3 separate regions of the Homo sapiens genome follow, and regions 2 and 3 are each linked to region 1. Evidence: promoter capture Hi-C in human tissues and cell types (Jung and others, 2019). All regions are on one chromosome and are shown on one strand. Each heading gives the region's core, a stretch centred on a gene start or on the middle of the fragment in contact. The rest is flanking DNA. Distances are from core to core; before and after follow the strand shown. Region 1 holds the start of ADAMTS2 (ADAM metallopeptidase with thrombospondin type 1 motif 2). Region 2 overlaps ADAMTS2 (ADAM metallopeptidase with thrombospondin type 1 motif 2). Region 3 has its middle 73 kb from the start of RUFY1.

Region 1 (2,613 bases), core at 36-2,535:
GGCGTTAGATCGGCGGAGACCACGGAGCCCCAGTGCCTCAGAGACCCGCCGGCAAGCCACGCCCCCCCAGACCCCGCCCCACTGCGAAGGGAAGGGGCATTCCGCCAGGCGACCCCAGAAGCCAGCCTGCACCTCCCCGGCTTTCCTGCAACCGGGAAGGGGCGTTAACAGGGCCACCACTCCGGGGCTCCGCCACTCCCCAGCCGTTCCCTCCTCCGGAGACCTTGCCTGCCAAGAGCTCTGCCCCCTGCCCCGTTCAGGGTTGGGGCTCGGTGGGAACCTCCCCGTGCCCGAAGGGACGACCCCGTCAGAGAGTCCCCCGACCCTTGCACCTACCGTCCTTGGCAGGACGTGGAGCTGCTCGGAAGCCATTCCGGGTTGGCCCCCTTACCCGTGTGCCACGACCCCTCGGCGGGCCCCTGCCGCCCGAGTGCCCTCACCGCCAGCCTCCGGAGCGGCGGAGTCTCGGCTTCCCCGAGCACGAGCGGCCTGTCCTGCCTGTCCAGCTCCCGCTCAGCCCGCTGCCGGCCCCGTCTCCCCGAGCGCCCGAGGACTGGGAGGGGTGGAACAGGGTCCCTCCGATCTCCGGGGATTCCCTGCGGGGCGCCCCAACCAATCCTTAGGGCCCAAGGCTACGCGCTCGGCAGCCGGCTCCTCCGGAGCGTCCCCGGACGCGAGCCCCGGCGCCGCCTCGCCCTGGCTCCCCCCTCGGACCCGCTGGGGCTGACTCTGCGCTCTTGGCCGCGGGGCTTTTCCCGGCCCTCCGTCCCCACCCTCCGCGACTCAGGAGCCGCCAGTGCTCCGAGGCTCCCCCGGCCCAAGGCGCTCGGGGGCGGTGCGGGGCGCCCCCTGCGCGACCAACCCGGCCCCGAAGTTGGCCAACTTGGCCCCGGGCGGGGCGCGCGGAGTTTGCCCAAGTCAGGCTGGACGACGCCTGGGGAGGGGGCGGCGGGGCACGCGGGACAGGGCCAGGCCGGCGGGGGTCCCGGGGAGTAGGGGCCGGGCCGCACCTACCTGGGGGGTCGGCGGCGGCGGCGAGCCTGGCGTTCGCGGGCGGCGGCGGCGGCGGCAGGAGCGGCGGCGGCAGCAGCAGCAGCAGCAGCAGCAGCGCGGGGCAGAGCAGGCGGCGAGCGGCTCCCGCCGGCGGATCCATGGCAGCCGGACTGCAGCCGGGGCCCCGCACTCGCAGCCGGCGCGAAAGTTCCCCGCGAGCCGCCCAGCCCACATCTGGGGGCAGCTGGAGCCGCCCGCAGCTGCAGCACCGCAGGGCGCGGGGCGGAGGAGGCGAGGCGCGGAGGGGCGGGCGGGGGAGCGCGGAGGGAAGGCGGGGAGAGGGAAGGAGCGAGCGAGCGAGGGAGGCAGGCGGGAGGGAGGGAGGCGAGCGAGGGGGAGGGCGGGGACGGCGGGCGCCTCAGCCTGCGGTGACCCGGCGCATCTTGGCGCGGCCGCCGCCGCCGCCCGCTTCCCTCTTCGCGCCGCCGTCGCCGCGGTGCCGGGCTCGCAGCGAAGCAGAGACACCCCGAGGCGGCGGCAGAGAAGCGCCGCGGGCCGGGCCGGGGGAGCCCCGCCGCCAGCCACCCCAGGGGCACAACCTCCGAGGAGCGGCGCCGGCCGAACGTCCCCACCTAGAGAGCCCTTGGGGTGCCGGGTCCCACCCATCAGCCCTGGAATTCAAGGGGTGCATCCCCCTGTCTCTGTGCTCTGGGGCAGGACAGGGTGAGGGAATGAAAGGGGAGGGGGGACTGACTACTGGGTCCAAGGTCTGAGCCAGGCCGAATGCCCAAATAGAGGCCGCAAAGGCCAGAAGATGCTGTTAGGAGGGTACACCCAGGGCGCGACCCCAAAGATCAACTTTTGCCCTTACTGAGAGAGGCAAGGCTCCTTCAGTCCCCAGTTCCTCTTCCTCTGAAGTCCCTGTCCCCTGTCCCCCATCTGCCTTCCCATCCCTCCGCTGCAGCCTCAGCACAGCCTCTTCCTGCCAGACCTGGGCTCTCTGCCCATGAGCACAGTCAGGCTCCTGCCCTCACCTGTCCTCAACCCCACGTATGCATTCTGTCCTCCCGCCATTGCACTCCCGGCCCCCAACCTGAAATGGCCTCTCCAAGCTCTGCCTACCTTTTCCACCCAAGCATCCAAGGACACCTGGGCCCATTCTGGGGCCAGTTTGCTGTTAGAGCCCGTTGCCAACCGGAACCCCTCCCCAGTCCCTCCTCTCCAGCAAGGCCCTGATCCTCCCATGCTGTCTGAGCTCAGCGGCCTCTCTCCAGGGCCTGCCTGAGAGCCCCCTCTCAGGCTGTTGATCATCTCTGCCCTGGGACCCCCAATTTCTGCCTCACTTCCCCAGAGGGTGAACACCCACCCCTTTGATTTTCTCATTTGCCCTGCCCCAGGTCTGTGTGGCCAGGGCTTTGGTCTTTGCTTTGGCCAGGGGCAGAGGACCCGGAGATGACTCAGGCCTCTCCCTGCTGGCCAGGAGGTCCCAGTCGTTGGGGGAAACACGACTTACACAGCAGGCTCTAACTGTGATCTCACGTCCTTGGTTCTTTCGATTGTGGGTCCTGGGTGTGAGAGCATCGCAGCTGGACAGCCATCTTCACCTGCAAGCTGTACTCT
Region 2 (2,613 bases), core at 32-2,531, 200 kb before region 1:
AATAAATGATTTAAAAATGAAATTAAGAAAATAACTCCATTTACAATAGCACCAAAAAGAAAAAAAGAACCTTAGTAATAAATTGAACAAAAGGAATGCAAAACGTGTCCACTAAAAATTACAATACATCATTGAAAGAAGTTCAAGTTCTAAGTAAATGGAAAGACATCTCAATGTTCATTGATCAGTGTTAAAATGGAAATACTTTCACACTGATCTACAGGTTCAACATAATTCCTATCAAAATGCAGACTAGAATTTTGCAAAGTTGAGAAGCTGCTCCTAAAATTCATATGGAAAGTCACAGGATGTAGAATAGCCAAAATAATATTGAAAAAAGAGCAAAGTGGGAAGACACTTCACCATTTCGAAGCTTACTATTAAACTACAGTAATCAAGACAGTGTATCCCTGGCATAAGGACAGACAAATATACCGACGGAATAGAACAAAAGCCTAGAACTAAACCTTTACATTTGATAAGTTAAACTTTGACAATTCAATGGAAAAGGAATAGTCTCTTCAACGAATGGTTCTGAGACAACTGGATATTCACATGCAAAAGAATGACGTTGGACATCTTCCTCACACTTACACAAAAATTAACTCAAAAATGGATCACAGATGTCAATGTAAGAGCTGAAACTCTGAGAATAAAACATAGGAGTAAATCTTCTTGACCTAAGTAATGGTTTCTCAAATACAACACCAAAAGCACAGGTGATAAAAGTAAAAATAGATAAATTAGACTTCATCAAAATTAAACACTTTTGCACCTCAATGATGCCATCACGAAAGTGAAAAGACAACCCACAGAATGGGAGGAAATATTTGCAGACCACTTACACTGGTGAGTGTGATAACAGACTTGTATCCAGAATAAATAAAAAACTCTTAGGATTCAATAATAAAAATATAAATAACTCCATGAAAAAATAAGCAAAGGATCTAAATAGACATTTATACAAAAAATATATACAAATTGCCATTAAGCACATGAAAAGACGGTCATCATAGGTCACTAGGGAAATACAAATCAAAACCCCAATGAGATATATCACTTCACATGCACTAGGATTGGTATAACAAATAAAATAACAAGTTTTGGGGAGGATATGGAGAAATCTGAAGCATCATTGCCAGTTGGAATGTAAAACAGGCTGCTTTGGGAAACTGGCAGTTCCTCAAAATGTCAAACATGGAGTTACCATAAAATCCAATGATTCCATTTCTAGGTGTACATCCAAGAAAAACGACCCATGCACGCAATACTTTGTACACGAATGTTTGTGCGGTATTTCCCATCATTACCGAAAGGTGGAAACAACCCAAATGTCCATCAACTAATAAATGATGAATACCCACACAGTGGATTAGTATTCAGCAACAGGAAGGAATGCAGGGCTGCTGCACACTACAACAGGGATGAGCCCTGTGAACATTATGCCAAGTGAAAGACGCCAGGCGCAAAATGTCCCATGTTGTATGATTCCATTGATATGAAATGTCCAGAATTGGAAAATCGATAAAGACAGCAAGAGGATGAGTGGCTACGAGTGGCTATCTGGAGTTGGGCGAGAGTAGGATGGATTGAGGTGACTACTAAAGGGTTTGGAACTTTTCAGAGTGACAAAAATGTTCCAGCGCTTGTTTGTTGTGATGGCTGTAAAACTCTATGAATACACTGAAAATCACTGAATTGTACACTCTCTTTTACTTATTTATTTATTTTTGAGACGAAGTTTCGCTCTTGTTGTCCCGGCTGGAGCGAAGTGGCGAGATCTCGGCTCACCGCAACCTCTGCTTCCCGGGTTCAAGTGATTCTCCTGCTTCAGCCTCCTGAGTAGTTGGGATTATAGGTGCCCACCACAAGGCCCAGCTAATTTTTTTGTATTTTTAGCAGAGACAGGGTTTCACCATGTTGGCCAGGCTGGTCTCAAACTCCTGACCTCAGGTGATCCTCCTGCCTCAGCCTCCCAAACTGCTGGGATTACAGGCATGAGCCACTGCACCCGGCCTGTACACTTTAAAAAGTGAATTTAAATATAGATCTCACCTTATTAAAGCTGTTAGGGAAAAAAACCAATACCAACCAAACAGGCAGCAGATGGAGTTGGCCAGCACTTGGCCCTGGCATATTGAGGGAAATTCTTTCTTTTTAAAAAATGATCAGTACTTTAAAGAAGTTATGGGTGACGCCATCTGAACATTTAGGATGATGACATTTGGAGGAGGTGCTCTCTGGTTTCCGTCCTTGATGTGGTTTTCAGGGCATTTCAAGTTTTCTCTGTGGGAGCTTGACTTTAAGACACTCTTTGGATGAGCAACGCTCAGTAGCAGTTGCCGTGGACGCCCTGACTGCAGTGGCAGCGTTCGCAGCTCCCTGGCGTCTTTGATGTTGTCAACATTTCATGGCAAATCAGAAAGATGTCTGAACCATTTTCCTATGTGTTCATCAGATTCACTCCTCTTCGTTAATGAGACTGTCAAACGCTCCAAGGCCTGTTAACTTCTTTGATATGTGTCTCTTCCTCCTAATGAGCAACTGCTTTTGGTTTGATATAAAACCTTTCTTTTTTGGTGACAATGAGCTTTTTGAAGTCAGAGTTATTAT
Region 3 (2,613 bases), core at 84-2,583, 130 kb after region 1:
AAGGGGAATTTGAGAGTTGAATTTGAGTGTGCGCTTGTAAAGGACTCAACCCTGCCAGTCGCGGTTCAAGATCAGGGTTGGCTGTAGGTGGGAGGCCGTGCAGTTCCTGGGAAAGCTAACTCACCGCGGTGTCTTTTCTGTCTCACGCCGAGAAGAGCCCTGTTTGTGCTCCGCTACTGCCTGGAGTCTCCAGAGGACGCAAACGGGCGAGGGGATGTGTGGGGAGAAGTACTTGCTTTTTCTTGCTTTCTTCTTTACAGAATTTGTTCTTTTCCCACAAGGCCACTCTAGCCACACCAGGAGCTTTCTCAGAAGCAGTCACAATCTTTTTCCTTTTTTTGTTTTCAGACAAGGTCTCACAAATGACAAACAACAAGACAAATGACAAACAGGCAAAAAAAAAAAATCTTTTTTCTTCCAAGATAAAACCCAAATTGATTCAGCAGACATTTTGATTAGGAAATCCTATAAATCAGGACCACTCTTAATTTCAGACACTCCGTTATGAAGTGTACATCTACCTCTAGGGGATGAATAAGCCATTGAATCTTTTAAAAACTGGCTTTTTAAAAACTGTTGCCGAGGCTGGAGTGCAGTGGCACAATCTTGGCTCACTGCAGCCTTAAATTCCTGGGCTCAAGTGATCCTCCTGATTTAGTCTCCCTAGTAGCTGGGAGCACAGGTGCATGCCACCACCATGCTGGCTAATTTTTTTTTTTTTTTGAGACGGAGTCTCGCTCTGTTGCCCAGGCTGGAGTGCAGTGGCATGGTCTCGGCTCACTGTAACCTCTGCCACCCAGGTTCAAGCGATTCTCCTTCCTCAGCCTCCCAAGTAGCTGGGATTACAGGCACCTGCCACAGCGCCTGGCTAATTTTTGTATTTTTAGTAGAGACGGGGTTTCACCATCTTGGCGAGGCTGGTCTTGAACTTCTGACCTCGTGATCCACCCCCTGCTCGGCTACCCAAAGTGCCAGGATTACAGGCATGAGCCACCGCGCCCCGCCTAATTTTTGTATTTTTGTGTAGAGATGGGATCTCATTATGTTGCTCAGGCTGATCTCAAACTCCCGCCCTCAAGCAATCTTCCTGCCTTGGCCTCTCAAAATGCTGGGATTATAGACGTGAGCCACTGGGCCCACCTAAACAATCTCTTGAGCCTCTCTCCCATCCTCCCAGCCCAACTTTCTTATTCCATCCTTGCTGGTGTCTGTAGGAATGGACAAGAGACCCTGGATGTTTTTCTGCTCTGTGCTGGCCTCTGTGAAGCTGTGGGCCTCAGGCTCTGCACATCCTCCCCGTGCGGTTTGTCTCCTTCTCCCATGCAGCTGTTCTTTGTGACCGAAGCTGGTTTTAAAATGTGGCTTTCCCCGAGGAGAAATCACAGGCTTTGCCCTTTGAAGCTTAATGGTGTCTTACGAAGGTCCTACCCCCAAATGCGAAGGTAGCAAAGCCAGTTTTTAAGAGATTCAATGGCCTGTTCATCCTCCAGATGTAGATGTACGCTTCATAACGGAGTGTCTGAAATTAAAAGTGGTCCTGATTTATAGGATTTCCTAATTAAAATGTCTGCTGAATCAATTTGGGTCTTGTTCTGGGAAAGAAAAGAATTTTTTTGCCTGTTTGTCATTTGTCTTTTGACTTTGCTTATGTTTGTGTCTGTGTGTGCATGTGCACGTAGGGTTTTGTTGAACATTTTATTTGGAAACAATTATAGATTCACAGAAGTTGCAAGGATAGTATCGAGATGTCCCCATTTACACTTCACACAGTTTCTCCCAGTGACAATATCTTACATAACTATGGTACAACATCAAAACCGGGAAAATTGACATTGGTGCAATGTGCGTCATCTTTTTTTTTTTTCTTTTTTGAGACAGAGTCTCACTCTCTCGCCCAGGCTGGAGTGCAGTGGCGCGATCTCAGCTCACTGCAACCTCTGCCTCCCAGGTTCAACCCATTCTCATGCCTCAGCCTCCCGAGTAGCTGGGACTATACGTAGCCCGCCACCACACCTGGCTAGTTTTTGTATTTTTAGTAGAGAAAGGGTTTCACCTTGTTGGCCAGGCTGATCTCTAACTCCTGACCTCAGGTGATCTGCCCATCTCAGCCTCCCATAATGCTGGGATTACAGGCGTGAGCCACCAAGCCCGACCCAATGTGTGTCATCTTATCATATGTGTAGTTTCATGTAACTATTACAATCAAAATACAAAACTGTCCCATTGCCACAAAAATCACCCTTGGGAGCCACCCCATGATAGTCACCTACACAGCCATGTCCCCACCATCCCTAACCTCTGACAGCCACTCGTCTGTTTTCCATCTCTGTAGGGGGTGAATAGGCCTCCAAAAATGTATGTCCAGCTCCTAACCCCTGGAACTGTGAGTGTGACCTTATTTGGAAAGGGGTCCTTACAACTGTAATGAAGAGTCTCGAGTTGAGATCATCCTGGAGTCAAAGTGGGCCCTGAATCCAATGACAGCTGTAAGAAAAGGAAGAAGGACATTGGAGACAAAAGGCAAAGAGGAGAAGGCGATGTGGAGACGGAGACACAGGTGGCAGTGATGCGTCCAAAAGCCAAAGAAGGTCAAGGATTGCGGCAGCCACCAGA

Evidence for each region. The method cuts DNA at HindIII sites, captures the fragments that hold promoters and counts their contacts. A contact is called where the count stands out against the background at its distance.
Region 2: a fragment that was not itself captured here is called in contact with the fragment with the promoter of ADAMTS2 in region 1 in 3 of the 25 tissues and cell types used here (H1 embryonic stem cells, IMR-90 fibroblasts and mesenchymal stem cells).
Region 3: a fragment that was not itself captured here is called in contact with the fragment with the promoter of ADAMTS2 in region 1 in 1 of the 25 tissues and cell types used here (dorsolateral prefrontal cortex).

What each region holds. Positions count from the first base shown.
Region 1 is chr5:179,344,176-179,346,788 of GRCh38, forward strand. ADAMTS2 (ADAM metallopeptidase with thrombospondin type 1 motif 2) reads right to left here and starts at 1,286. Exons shown (of 22, transcript NM_014244.5): 1 at 1,015-1,286. The coding sequence starts at 1,153. It overlaps LOC105377759 (a long non-coding RNA gene), which reads right to left. Exons shown (of 3, transcript XR_941311.3): 3 at 2,186-2,604. The HindIII fragment of the contact is 12,907 bases long and covers 1-2,613 here.
Region 2 is chr5:179,144,138-179,146,750 of GRCh38, forward strand. All of the region lies in intron 10 of ADAMTS2 (ADAM metallopeptidase with thrombospondin type 1 motif 2), which reads right to left. Among named protein-coding and RNA genes, the nearest start is that of ZNF354C, 85 kb to the left of the region's middle. The HindIII fragment of the contact is 7,607 bases long and covers 1-2,613 here.
Region 3 is chr5:179,476,025-179,478,637 of GRCh38, forward strand. No RefSeq gene overlaps it. Among named protein-coding and RNA genes, the nearest start is that of RUFY1, 73 kb to the right of the region's middle. The HindIII fragment of the contact is 4,382 bases long and covers 1-2,613 here.